3 separate regions of the Homo sapiens genome follow, and all the other regions are linked to region 2. The links are contacts of gene promoters, found by promoter capture Hi-C in blood cells and fetal thymus (Javierre and others, 2016). All regions are on one chromosome and are shown on one strand. Each heading gives the region's core, a stretch centred on a gene start or on the middle of the fragment in contact. The rest is flanking DNA. Distances are from core to core; before and after follow the strand shown. Region 1 overlaps C1QTNF7-AS1 (C1QTNF7 antisense RNA 1). Region 2 holds the start of BST1 (bone marrow stromal cell antigen 1). Region 3 overlaps PROM1 (prominin 1).

The links. Contacts are between HindIII fragments. The CHiCAGO score rates a contact against its expected background, and 5 or more counts as called.
Region 1: a contact is called between a fragment that was not itself captured here and the fragment with the promoter of BST1 in region 2, in 2 of 17 cell types (neutrophils and total B cells). The highest score is 5.5, in neutrophils.
Region 3: a contact is called between a fragment that was not itself captured here and the fragment with the promoter of BST1 in region 2, in 1 of 17 cell types (naive CD4 T cells). The highest score is 5.3, in naive CD4 T cells.

Annotation. Positions count from the first base shown.
Region 1 is chr4:15,229,884-15,234,317 of GRCh38, forward strand. The region is part of intron 2 of C1QTNF7-AS1 (C1QTNF7 antisense RNA 1); the gene reads right to left. Among named protein-coding and RNA genes, the nearest start is that of C1QTNF7-AS1, 200 kb to the right of the region's middle. The HindIII fragment of the contact is 2,640 bases long and covers 1,000-3,639 here.
Region 2 is chr4:15,699,860-15,704,465 of GRCh38, forward strand. It overlaps BST1 (bone marrow stromal cell antigen 1), which reads left to right and starts at 3,206. Exons shown (of 9, transcript NM_004334.3): 1 at 3,206-3,473. The coding sequence starts at 3,286. RefSeq lists a silencer at 3,145-3,224. The HindIII fragment of the contact is 13,056 bases long and covers 1-4,606 here.
Region 3 is chr4:15,974,617-15,979,589 of GRCh38, forward strand. PROM1 (prominin 1) reads right to left here. Exons shown (of 28, transcript NM_006017.3): 26 at 4,779-4,847. Among named protein-coding and RNA genes, the nearest start is that of FGFBP2, 14 kb to the left of the region's middle. The HindIII fragment of the contact is 2,916 bases long and covers 1,523-4,438 here.

The DNA of each region.
Region 1 (4,434 bases), core at 1,070-3,569, 470 kb before region 2:
GGCAGAAAGATGTGGAACTTATCCAGGATGCCGAACGTTAAAAAAACTCAAATTGCAGAAGAACATGTTAGTATGATCCCATTCTTGTTAAAGCACTCGCATATAAGTTGGTGTATTCATGAAACAAAATGAACACAATCATATGCCAAACCTTTAAAAGAAAGTTGGGATTACGGAAAATGTTTCCTTTACAGACCATGTGTTTCTGTAATGTTTCAATTTTTTTTTTTACAATAATCACATATCACTTTTGTAGTAATAAAAAAAAACCTACAATTTTTTTAAGAGGAAAAGCAGTTGATTCTACAAATAGAAACCCATCTTAGTTCACTTGGGCTTCCATAAAATATACCAAAAACTAGATAGCTAATAAACAGCAGAAATTTATTGCTCACAATTCTGGAGGAAGTCTAAGATCAGGGCACTGCAGATCCACTCTCTGGTGGGGGACTGTTTTCTGGTTCATAGGTGGTGCCTTCTTGCTCTGTCCACACATGGCGGAAGAGGCAGCGCAGTTCTCTGCGGTCTGTTTTATAAGACACTAAACATTCTCACCTTACGGTATTTCTACCTCCTACTACCATCACATTGGTGGTTAGGTTTCAACACATGAATTTTAGGAAGATACAAACATTTATCCCATAGCAGAACCCTAAGATGCAGGCCCCAAGGCAGTTTTTGTGGGTGCCCAATGTAGGAAACATTAGTTTTTATAATATAATACTATTTTCAATCAGAACCAAAGAAAAAAAGAAATTGGGCAAATAGTGTTATCTTCAAACACAAAAGATAGCAACATTTTCAATGTAATGGTTTTCAAAGTACTCTGATAGAAACACACCTGGAATAAAACAAAGTTTATTAGGATTTTTCACTGTTTGATAGTGTTCATTATCTTACAATGACCTTAGTGCCAGGAATAATTCATCAGAGAAGTCTTCCTGTCACTGACGAATCTTGAAATGCTTTGTAAGTTTCCATCAATGTCAGTGTTTCCCAAGCTTGCTTTTAAAAGCATTTATTAAGCATCTAATGGGTGCCTGATATTTTATTACTTTCTTTCACATGACTATTTTCTTTTTGATTAAACCTTATTTAGTAAGTATTATTTTTCTCCTGTTTTTAGATGAGAAAACAAGGACTTAGGGTGGTTAGGAAACTACCTGATTACCAGCCACCTTGATATGAGGTAAAATGGGGAATGTGTGTATAAACGAAATAGAATTCAAACTGGAACCACTGTGCTAAGTGAACACAAGTGTCTCATTTCGTGGAGGACTCACCTTGGGCAACTGGCCCAGCACTCCTCAGTTATTTAGATCTAACACTTCCTTACACATTTGGGGAACATTGTTCTCAAACAGAAGGTCAGATGGTCCCTGAAGTCTACACATGAACTCCTTAAGAAACATTCCCGGAGTCCTATGACTAGGAAATAGCTTAGGTTTCTATGAGCTCTGATCCATTTGGATAGTTATAAACTCCCAAAAAGTGATATCTGAGCAGACATCATGTGTCATCGTGAAAATAAAATCATTGCACTGACTTATCTGAAATAGTCCTTAATATTCTAGCCACTGCCCCCTTAAGGCCATACTGTACAGACTTTTGGATTTGACAAACGTGGTCATCACCACACTGACAATTTAATCCCAATACTTCAGTGATGGTGCTGTGTGCTCACTGATATTAGGTTGGTGTAAAAGTATTTGCAGTTTTTGTCATTACTTTCAATGGCCAAGCCCGCAATTACTTTTGCACCAGCCTAATTCATTTTACCCTAGAGGTAAGCAAATGTGGCCATATTTTTATACCAGCACCAGGGGGCAGCAATGTGCAAATAAGGCCGCTCTGTGGCCTCCTCTGTTTGGCCTGGTTTGGGAGGAGGATGTGGTTCTCATTCCCTAGTGCTTCTCAGATTTAAAATAATGGTAATGTAATCATTTCAGCTCTGCTCTGGAAACTGCTGGTGCTAATTCATTTCAGATAAAAATACGCAGACTACACACATGTGCATCAAATCAGTCTTTTCAGGACTCAGGGTCTGCTCATTTGGGCATTTGTTCACCTAACCTTTAATCAGAAACTACTGCGTGCCAGGTACCGCCCTGGATGAGGCCATGCTCCCATCCAGTGGGGAAACAGACACACCCCATCCAAAACCACAACCTTCCCTACTTTTTCAGTTTCCCTTAAGCACTTATTTTTTAAATTTTTTTCTTGTGAGTGATTTGTCTACCTTGTTGGAACATAAACTCCTTGACAGCTGGGATTTTTATCTGTTTTGTTCACTGGAGTATCCCTAGCTACTAGAACAGCACCTGGGACATAATTAGGGTTCAATAAATATTTTTTGAATGAACAGGTATAAAATTATTGAGACACACCATAATGGAGGTGGACGTGCATATCTTCATATGAACTAGATTACGCTAAATTATTCACTTGAATAAATTTATTGTTTTATCATTCCCACTAGCAGTGAATGGGAGTGATGCCCGAAAATAACATTAAATTATCTGGTATTAGCATTAGAAGGAATTTGGGACATCACCAAATTCTCCTTTTACAGAAGAAGAAATTGAAGCCAAAGTGAAGAAGAGATTTGCCCAAGGCTACCTACATCCAGACGGTCGCGTCAGGATTCCAAGCCAGGACTTCTGACCCCAGCCCACTGTGTTTTCACCACACACCCTGCTGCCTGCCTGACTTTTTCATTTTCCTCAAATATCACCTCCTGGAACTATCAACTGCATAAGTTAATGACCTGATCTGTCTAATTCTTATTTGGTAATTGGCAGAGACCAGACTTGGCTGTCTGCATTCAAGGTCTCCAAATCAACCCTCTTAAAGGCATCTCTGCTCAGCCTCTCTGCATGAGATCTGGTATTTAGTTCCTAGCACCCACTGTGTACTAAGTTCTTCAGAAACATGTGGTCATTTGAACCTCACAACAATCCTACGCAAGTGCTATTACTATTCTCGTTTTACTGATGAGAAAATATAATAACAGTGTACATTGAACCCACAGGGCATGCAGCAGGAACTCAGGATTGTTCTAAGGATTCCATACTTGTGAGCTCATTTAATTCCCTGACAGCCTTTGAAGTGAGTGCTGTTACTGTTTTCTACTGTAGACATGGATATTGAAGTCAAAAGAAGGCAAGATGTTTGTCCAAGGCCATATCGCTGGGAAATGGCAAAGCCACCCTGTGTTTCATTACTGTGCTCTCCTTCCCCACTGAAAACAGAGGAGCTGTGGAGTCACGGGCACAAGGTCACACGGGCTGTGCCAGCTGAATCCACTTTTGTGCATGGTTTTTTCACAACGAGCTGGAGGTTTGGGCCAGAAAACCCTTTTGTTTGAAAGTCACAGATCTGAAACTCAGCACAAAAGAGGAGAAAGTGATAATGCAAAAGCTGCCTGGGCTGCAAGCAGCGTTTCCTCTTTGGGTTTGTTTTCCTTTCTAATTTGCCAAGCTCTTTCCAGGCTGAGGCAGCTGCCACACAAAGCTCTTGAGGAGATCCCACTAGCTGGCCAAGGGACAACCATTAGACAGATGGGCTGGACCTTCTGTTTCCACCCTTCCATCTGGGCACCAAGAGCCTGGGTCTGCCGTGGGTGTGGGGACACCCTGAAGCTTGCCCATTCCAGGCTCAACCGGATAATGAACTGAAGTCACCTCATAGCAACTTGGACGTGATGTTTGTGGGAATGAAGCTGGTTTGCTCTGTTATTCTGTTGAATTAATCTGGGCTCTGAGCCCCCTTGAAAATCATCAGGAGAACACAATCTAAAAAGATGGGCAGGAAGTGGTTCTTTTGCTGGCCGGAGGTGATTTTGCTGATTGAACTTTTACATGTGGTACGGAACAAATGAACAGAAAAGGCTCGGCTTACGAATCCTCTGCCGTTAGTTCATCTGCACATGTTCTGACCTCTGAAACTGAAGCATGCTGGTAAATCTCAGAGCCTCTTTCCAGCAGTGTCAAACAGTGTGATGAACAAAGGCTTTGAAGTCTGGTATACCAGGGGGTGCTTCACAACATACCCTGGGTGACTATATGACTCTGCCAGGTAACTTTGCCTCTCTGAGCCTCAGTGTCCTCATCAATGAAATGCAAGTTATAAAGCCTTTCTCACAAGGTTGTTGTAAATGTCTGGCACCTAGTATGTGCTCAATAAATAATGCCTATTATCATTCGGGAGAAAACTTTCATGGCCTAAACTATGGCAAAGGAGCAGGTCTGAGTCCTGGCTCCATCTCCTGCTGGCTAGCGGGCTTCTGACATGTCATCTCCCTTCCTGCAACCTTGAATTTGACCTCTGACTGGAAGCGAGGAGATTGAAATATTCCCATCTTTAAGGTCTCTGACTAATCTGCAGTGACTCTCCCACTAGATGATCACTTCCTCCCGTACACACGCTCGCTCA
Region 2 (4,606 bases), core at 1,956-4,455:
GGGTGGGGACACAGCCAAACCATATCATTCCACCCCGGCCCCTCCAAATCTCACATCCTCACATTTCAAAACCAATCATGCCTTCTCAACAGACCCTCAAAGTCTTAACTTCAACATTAGCCCAAAAGTCCACAGTTCAAAGTTTCATCTGAGACAAGGCAAATGCCTTCTGCCTATGAGCCTGTAATATCAAAAGCAAGCTAGTTACTTTCTAGATAATGATTACCTCCAGGGTAAACAAGAGGTTTACAACAAATAAAATGTCATAATGTCCCAAACAGAATAATGTCCCAAACAGAAACATCAAGAAATAGCATATAGGTATTGTATTAGTCTGTTCTTGCATTGCTATAGATACCTGAAACTGCTCATTTATAAGAAAAAGAGGTTGAATTGGCTCACAGTTCTGCAGGCTGTAGGAAGCATAGTGGCTTCTGCATCTGGAGAGGCTTCAGGAAGTTTCCAAATGTGGTGGAAGGCAAAGGGGGAGCAATGGGTCTTACACGGTGGCAGCAGGGAGCAAGAGAGAGGGAGGAGGTGCTACACACTTCTTTTTTTTTTTTTTTTGAGACAGAGTCTCACTCTGTCACCAGGCTGGAGTGCAGTGGTGAGATCTCAGCTCACTGCAACCTCCGCCTCCCAGGTTCAAGCGATTCTTCTGCCTCAGCCTCCCGAAGAGCTGGGACTACAGGTGCGTGCCACCACGCCCAGCTAATTTTTGTATTTTTAGTATAGATGGGGTTTCACCATGTTGGCCAGGATGGTCTCGATCCGTGATTCCCAACACACCCCCCACACCAGCCTCCCAAACTGCTGTGATTACAGGTGTGAGCCACGGCGCCCTGCCAGTGCTACACAGTTTAAAACAACCAGATCTCACTTACTATCATGAGAATAGCAACAAGGGGATGGTGCTAGACTATTCTTGAGAAACCCACACCCATGATAAAATCACCTCCCACCAGGCCCCACCTCCAACGTTGGGGATTACAATTTCACATTAGATTTGGTGGGACGAGCCATGCCAGGGATGCCCCAAAATTACTAAACTAAAGGGAAAAGTCAGGCTGGGAACTGCTCAGGGCAAACTTGCCTCCCATTCTATTCAAAGTCATTCAGCTGCTCACTGAGATATATGCATATTCTGATGGCCTTCTTTGGAAAGGCTTATCAGAAACTCAAAAGAAGGCAACCATTTGTCTCTCACCTACCTGAGACCTGGAAGCCCCCTCCGTGCTTCGAGTTGTCCCCGCCTCTCTGGACAGAACCAATGTACTTCTTACATATATTGATTGATATCTCATGTCTCCCTAAAATGTATAAAACCAAGCTGTGCCCTGACCACCTTGGGTACATGTCGTCAGGACTTCCTGAGGTTGTGTCATGGACACGTGTCCTCAACCTTGCTAAAATAAACTTTCTAAATTAATTGAGACCTGTCTCAAAATTTGCGGGTTCACACATGTTATTTAGAAATATGGAAGTAAACACAGGAACAAAACTTGAAAGAATTAAAAATGCTTTCCTCTGGAAAGTGGATTTAACTTAAGGAGGAACTGAACAGGAGAATGCGGGTTTTGGTTACAGAAAAAAAGAGATTCAAATAAAACAGTAGAGAACACCTGTTCTGTCCTCCCTTGTGTTTATCAAGTGCTTGCCAGGCACTCAAAGTTCATTGCTGTCATTATTGTAAGAATTGAGGACTTGGGCCTCCACGTGGTATTCTATTAATACTGGCTCTTTTTTTTTTTTTTTTTGAGACGGAGTCTCACTCTGTTGCCCAGACTGGAGTGCAGTGGCCCGATCTCGGCTCACTGCGAGCTCTGCCTCCTGGGTTCACGCCGTTTTCCCGCCTCAGCCTCCCGAGTAGCTGGGACAACAGGCGCCCGCCACCGCGCCTGGCTAATCTTTTGTATTTTTAGTAGAGACGGGGTTTCACCGTGTTAGCAAGGATGGTCTCGATCTCTTGACCTCGTGATCCACCCGCCTCGGCCTCCCAAAGTGCTGGGATTACAGGTGTGAGCCACCGCGCCCGGCCAATCCTGGCTCTCTTAAACTGAACATCTCCAGGATTTTGCATCTATCAGGAAGGGATATTGTGACCTCTGACAAGTTACAGTCGGCGGTAGGTATCCATGGAGAATTGGTTCCAGGAACCTCCTGGATACCAAAATCCACAGATGCTCAAGGCCCTTATATTAAATGGTGTAGTATACAGTATTTGCACATCCTCTTCTATAATTCACGTCATCTCCAGATTCCTTGTAATATCAAGTACTATGTAATTGTTACATAAGTAGTTGTTACATTGGATTATTTAGGGAATGATGACAAGGAAAAAAAAGTCCGTACATGTTCCGTACAGATGCAAGCATTCTTTTTTTCCTCAAATGTTTCTCATCCGTGGTTAGCTGAATTTGGATGATGAATCCGCAAATCTGGAGGGCCGAACATGCTTAACTTCCCTGAGTTTATCCATTGCTAAAGCGAGAGAAATTACAAACTTAGCTAGGAAGGGTGTTGCGGAAAGTAATTAATATTATACTTGCAAAGTGCTTGGCACGTTGTTGTGGTTATTATTTCCTGAAAACAAACAAACACCACTTATTGGTTGGTGTGAAAGAGGGCATCTGTCAAAGTTGTCGTCCTTTGGAGCCAGAAAAGTATTTCTTCTGATGATGACTGACCTCTCCTCACCTCTCCTTCAACCTTGCGGCTTCTTTGGGGCTCCCTCCCCGTGGACAGCGGTCAAGATTAGCCTGGGCCACAGTGCACTGGTCCTGTCCTGGGTGATGTTCCAAGCTCACTCTTTTTTAATTTTATTTATTTATTAATTTTTTTTTTAGACAGAGTCTCACTCTGTCGCCCAGGGCTGGAGTGCAGTGGTGCAATCACTGCTCGCTGCAGCCTCGATCCCCTGGGGTCAAGCCTCCTCACATCTCACCTCGCAGGTAGCTGAGACTACAGATGCGCACCACCAGGACCAGCTAAGTTTTGTATTTTTTTGTAGAGAGGAGGTTTCTCACCTGTATGTTACTCAGGTTTGTCTCGAACTCCTATACTCAAGCGATCCGCCCGTCTAGGCCTCTCAAAGTGCTGGGATTACAGGCATGAGCCGCCGCGCCCCGCCCCACGCTCAGTCTTGAAATTGTCTGGAACGGGAAACGGCAAACAGCGAGATATCCGAGCGAGAGTCCCGCCCTGCATCAGTTTGCGGAACCGCCTTGGTAGAAGGAGAGAAGGGGAGTGGAGGAAGCACGGGACTGGAGGGACCAAAGTTCCCCGATGGCGGCCCAGGGGTGCGCGGCATCGCGGCTGCTCCAGCTGCTGCTGCAGCTTCTGCTTCTACTGTTGCTGCTGGCGGCGGGCGGGGCGCGCGCGCGGTGGCGCGGGGAGGGCACCAGCGCACACTTGCGGGACATCTTCCTGGGCCGCTGCGCCGAGTACCGCGCACTGCTGAGTCCCGAGCAGCGGTGAGGCAGTCGGCCGGGTGGAAGGGGAGCCGGAAAGAGGCAACGGTGGGGAGGGCCTGGGGAGGGGAAAACTGGCGCTAAAGTTCGGGGTGAGGGGGCAATGAGAGAGGCCTTGAGGGGAGAGGTGAGTGTGGAGACAGCGATGGTCCTGAACGATGGGGGCGAGTGAGGAGGGGGCTGTGAAGTGTGTCTGCAGGTGAGGGGTGCGCTGTGCGGGGTCTAGAGATGAGTGTGTGTGTGTGCGCGCACACACACACTGTAGAGGTGAGGGGTGTGTGCGTGTGTTCTAGAGGTGAGGGGGGTGTGTGTGTGCGCGCGCTCTAGAGGTGGGAGGTGTGTGTGTGCTCTAGAGGTGGATGTGTGTGTGTGTGCTCTAGAGGTGGGGGTGTGTGTGTGTGTGTGTGCTCTAGAGGTGAGGGGTGTGTGTGTGTGTTCTAAAGGTGAGATGTGTGTGTGTGTTCTAGAGGTAAGGGGTGTGTGTGTTCCAGAGGTGAGGTGTCTGTATGTGTGTTCTAGAGGTGAGGGGTGTGTGCATGTGTGTTCTAGAGGTGAAGGGGGTGTGTGTGCGTGCGCTCTAGAGGTGAGGGGTGTGTGTATTCTAGAGGTGAGGGGTGTGTGTGTTCTAGAAGTGAGGGGTGTGTGTGTTCTGGAGGTGAGATGTGTGTGTGTGTGTTCTAGAGGTGAGGGGTGCGTGCATGTGTTCTAGAGGTGTGTGTGTATCTGTGTTCTAGAGGTGAGGGGTGTGTGTGTGTAGTCTAGAGGTGACAGGTGTGTGTGTGTGGTCTATAGGTGAGGGATGTGTGTGTGGTCTAGAGGTGAGGGATGTGTGTGTGGTCTAGAGGTGAGGGGTGTGTGTGTTCTAGAGGTGAGGGGGTGTATGTGTATTCTAGAGCTGAGGAGAGTGTGTGTTCTAGAGATGAGGTGTGTATGTGTGTTCTAGAGGTGAGGGGTGTGTGTGTGTTCTGGAGTTGAGGGGTGTGTGTTCTAGAGGTGAGATGTGTGTGTTCTAGAGATGATGGGTGTGTGTGTTCTAGAAGTGAGAGGTGTGTGTGTTCTAGAGGTAAGGGATGTGTGTGTGTGTGTGTTCTAGAGGTGAGTTGTGTGTGTGTTCTAGAGGTGAGATGTGTGTGTGT
Region 3 (4,973 bases), core at 1,731-4,230, 270 kb after region 2:
TTTGTTCTTACATTAAATAATTTTTTTTTTCATTTATAAACACAGGGTCTTGTTGTGTTGCCCAGGCTGGTTTTGAACTCCTGGGCTCAAGTGATCCTCTGTCCTCAGCCTCCCAAGGTGCTGGGATTAAAGGCGTGAGCCACCGCATCAGCCAGAGTCTTTTCTAGAATAGCCTAGCACCTTCTCTTTGCACTGATCATTTTCCTCCTAAACCTAGCTTTGTCCTGAAATGCAGGCAACACCTGAAAACTGTTGGCGATAAACACTGGGGGAAATCACAGTCTCAAGCTGTGTGAAGGAGGCACCAATTCGGGCTCATTTGTACAGAAGGTATCATGAGGTGTCGGCTAATATCCAGAGCCCAGTTGGTGTCATCAATGGAAGCTAAGTGGAGCTGGCTCAGCTAACAGATTAGAGCCACACTTAGTTATCTTCTGAATCACCTTTGGGTTCCTTCCATTGGAAATGTTAAGGTAATAAGAAAAGATTATGGTCATTATAGTGAACCACAAACCCTTAAGTAAGGGTTTACAGTGGTCAAAGGGTGAATGTTTTGCCTTGTTACCTCATTGAACCCTCACAACCCTACGCAAACAAGGCTCTTATTTTTATTTATTTATTGAGACGGAGTCTCACTCTGTCGTCCTGGATGGAGTGCGGTGGTGCAATCTCAGCTCACTGCAACCTCCGCCTCCCGGGTTCAAGCGATTCTCCTGCCTCAGCCTCCCAAGTAGCTGGGATTACAGGTGCCCGCCACTACGCCCAGCTAATTTTTTGTATTTTTAGTAGAGATGAGGTTTCACCATGTTGGCCAGGCTGGTCTCAAACTCCTGACCTTGTGATTTGCCTGCCTTGGCCTCCCAAAGTGCTGGGATTACAGGCGTGAGCCACCACACCCAGCCTCAAAGCTCTTATTATTCCCTCCTTCTACAAGTGAGAAAACTGAGTCTCAAGGACATTAAATAGCACTTCCACAATGACACATGGAGGCAGAGCTAGAATCCACTCCAACTCAGACCCCTGGGACCTCTAGGAGGGTCTGGGTGGAAAAGAAAGGTGTCCCAATGTCCCTAGAGTTTCTGGGATGTCATTTCCTAACCTTCTGCAAATAAACCAAATCAAAACTATGATTCTTCACTGACTGCCTGTAGACGGGCTGAACATCCAGGAGACTTGCCAGGGTTCCCACTGGAGGTGGGTGTGCAGGAATGAAAACAAGTCTCGATTTAATTGTTACCATGAAAGATGCTTCAGCGAAACTCACATAAGGTGTCACTCAGTCTTTGGGATTCTTCTCTTACTGAAACAAAACACTTCAACCCACCCTTGGAGTTCTACTATAGAACACAGAATATAGAAAGTAGAAAAAAATTCAAGTGTGCTGTGGACCGTTAAGGAAGGACGTCCAACATTAGTATATCCCTAGCCCCAGGCTTCACAGGTGTATGAAGTGCTAGGCCCTTAACAAAGACAAGTCCTTCCAATGTCTGTCGTAAGCAGAATGACCACAGAATCATCCTAAAGCTTCATTTATGTATTTAATAGAACAATGGCATTTAATCTAGTTCGAATTTCAACACTAAAAGCCCAAGATGAAATGTTCATTAGCAAGTGAGAAGAGTGGCATTTCTCAACACCGACTAGGGCTGTTTTCTAACATTTTCCTGTTTTCCATCATCATGCCTTTTTTCTTGTACAGCAAGTTAAATCCAAGAGTTATCAAGTCTTATGCTGTTCCAGCAATGTGAGTAAAAACTAGTAAATAAGGAGAGCTACGACAACCTTCTTGAGCCTAGAGAATTAAGTCTTTGACGCTACACGCAGGACATCTGTGGCACTAATAGGTGCTCGGTTATTCTCTTCTAGATGCTAGAACTGGAAGTCTACCCTCCTTTGTGGGAAAGGTCTCACGTGGTGGCATAAGACAGAAGACAGCTGACGCCTGCCTATTTCCAGCACTCAGATCTGAAGCTGGGGATTAGCCAGAGTCCAGTTGGCTGTGATGATCATGCCTAAGTGACAAAGGTCTGTGGCAGTACTGGTGTGCTGAGAGGACCCTGGCATCTCAAAGGCTGTCTTGTCAACTTGCACACTGACACCTCCCTTTCAATTGCAGGAGGACTTATTGGATGCAGCACATTCTTCCAGGCCTACCAGTGCATCTGCTTCTCAGGGAGCCGTGGAGTTGTGCCTTCTAGATTCCCTTTTAGGAATGACTTGCCTCCAGCTGGGGGCAGCATGGTCAGCAGAGAGCCTCCAGCTGTCAGAGCCTACCACTCTGACAGCAGAGCCTACAGCTCTATGGCAGTGCTGCTCCAGCCCTGGGAGCAGTGACTGGGGGAGGAGGGGGTGCAAAGACTTAGCTAATCTGTAATGATTAGCCCAGTGTGGGCAACTCCCTACAGGCCATGCTTGATCCAGAGCTCCTGCCTAGTCGGGCCAAGGCTTTGGCAGGCCAACCTTGACTTCTCCCCCTTTTTTTCACAACCATGGCTCCTCATAAACATCCTGCACTCCAAACTCCATTTGAGCACTGCTTCCAGAAAGCCTGCCTGTGGCAGCCTCCACCCAGGCTTGCATCTCTCTCTCTAGCATCTTCCAGGCAGCCTGGATGACTCTTCTTAGAACAGAGAGTACTTTCAGTGCCTTCACAACCAACAGGCAAACACCAGGAAGCAATTCTACAAATTCAAAGCAGTCCTAGAAGATCCGATGTTAGGGCAACATAGGTAATTGAGAACAGCTGTCCTCTGATCTTGAAAATTTCAGTCCATATATATAAGACACCCTCCAAGCATGCTACACCGCAAAAAGGAAGGCCAGGACATTATGCAGGCAGCCGTACTGTCTACTCTCCCCAGAGCACACCTGGCTAATTGATACTTAAATCGATCTTCAACTCTGTCACAACACAGCACTCTAGCCACCAAGCCTTGCATACTGGAAGTATCAGATGAGATGAAGTCAATTTGCCATTTCATGACTTTATTTATTTATTTAGAGACAGAGTCTCCCTCTGTCACCCAGGCTGGAATGCAGTGGCACGATCTCAGCTCACTGCAACCTCTGCCTCCCGGGTTCAAGTGATTCTCCTGCCTCAGCCTCCCAAGTAGCAGGGACTACAGGCGTGTGCCACCATACCTGGCTAATTTTTTGTATTTTTAGTAGAGACAAGGTTTCACCGTGTTAGCCAGGATGGTCTTGATCTCCTGACCTCGTGATCCACCCGCCTCGGCTTCCCAATGTGCTGGGATTACAGGCATGAGCCACCGCGCTTGGCCAAGAACTTGATTTTTTTAATTATCACCATTTCTTCTCTGATCTGAATGTTTGTGCACTCTTAAAATTCATACATTGACGTCATAATCACGGTGACGCTTTAGGTCATGAAGGCAAAGCCCTCATTAGTCTCTCATTAACGCCCTTAGAGAATAGACCCCAAGGAGCCAGCTTGCCCTTTCCACCATGTGAGGATTTGGCAAGACAACGCCACCTATGAGAAAGTGGTCCTTCACCGGACACCGAATCTGATGGCACCTTGATCTTGTATTCCAGCCTCCAGAACTGTGAGAAATAAACCCTGATGTTTATAAGCTACCCAGTTTAAGGCATTTCATTATAGCAGCTGGAATGCACTCAGTTAACTTCTCTTCCCCTAAATGGAAAATCATAATGAAAAGTTCTGATTTTTTTACAATGTTCAAAGTTTTAAGTTCAGGAAGCCATTTACCTCTTGAAAGGACAAATTTTAATGACTTTCTGGTTCTGTTCATCTTGAAATCTGACCAAGGTGGAGCATCAACTGTTACTAGGTAATATTGCTTAAGATAAGGATGTGCCTGACTGGTAAGCAGCTTCTGGCCTGGGAGGCTCTAAATATAAATACCTGGTGTGAAGCCAAAGCTGTGGGCTTACCTGAATGTGGGCACTTTTAACTGGATGCCTCCCATGTGGAGCGTGGGCCTTCTAAGGTGGATCTCCCCCATGCACCAACGTTAGACTCACCCTTTTGCATCTGAGACATCACTGTGGGGAGCGGGCTCGGGGGAGCACTGGCGGGCCAGCTGTATGGGCGTGGGAAGGATCACGCCCACTGAAGAGGACAGCCCACTGCTGCCCTGCTGCCCTGCACACTATGTCTCCACCTCTTATAAGCAGATAGGTCCCTGGCTGACGTGTGGGTCTGAATTCTTAGTAGAGCCTCAGAAGAGGACCGACCTCTGGCAAGCAAAGCTCAGAGTTACCTGACATATGATATATCCAGAACCACAGAAGCTCCTTAATTCTAGAGAATGTAAATTCATAAAGATTTCGGAGGAATAATTGAGGTTCTTTTTCTGGTTGGTTACAGTTAATTTATTGGAAGGAAGGAAAAAAGGAAGGAAGGAAGGAAAGAAGGAAGGAAGGAAGGAAGGAAAGAAAGAAGGAAGGAAGGAAAAGCTTTGAAAACTGTAACTACTCAGGTTATTTGGTGCAGAGAAATTCTAAATGCAAGGTATGCATGCATTTAATCTGTAATGATCTACAGCCATACATAGCATTTTAAGATGACACCAAATTTTAGTTGCTGAATAATTCCATTGTTTAGAAATCGACTGAACATTTAAACTCATGGCATCATGGAACACTATGTAGAGCATGATTGGAGACTAGCATTGATAAAGTATCATACAGAGAGAAGTGAAGGCATCAGCAGCATGCAGAAAATTCAGTGCTGATCTATAGGAGATGAGACGGTTTATCATAGGGCGGGCATGCACTTCCAGACTTTGCTTTACCTTGTCATAACAGGATTGTGAATACCATATACATGATCTTTATGATAACCATTATTACCATTTTCCATACTGTAACAGAAATAAATACACCAAAAACACCATGTTATCTCTAAGATGAAGTATTTACATCATGGATTACAAAGACAATGTAATGGTCATGAAAAGTATGTAACAATTTGTTAAATCTAAAAAAAA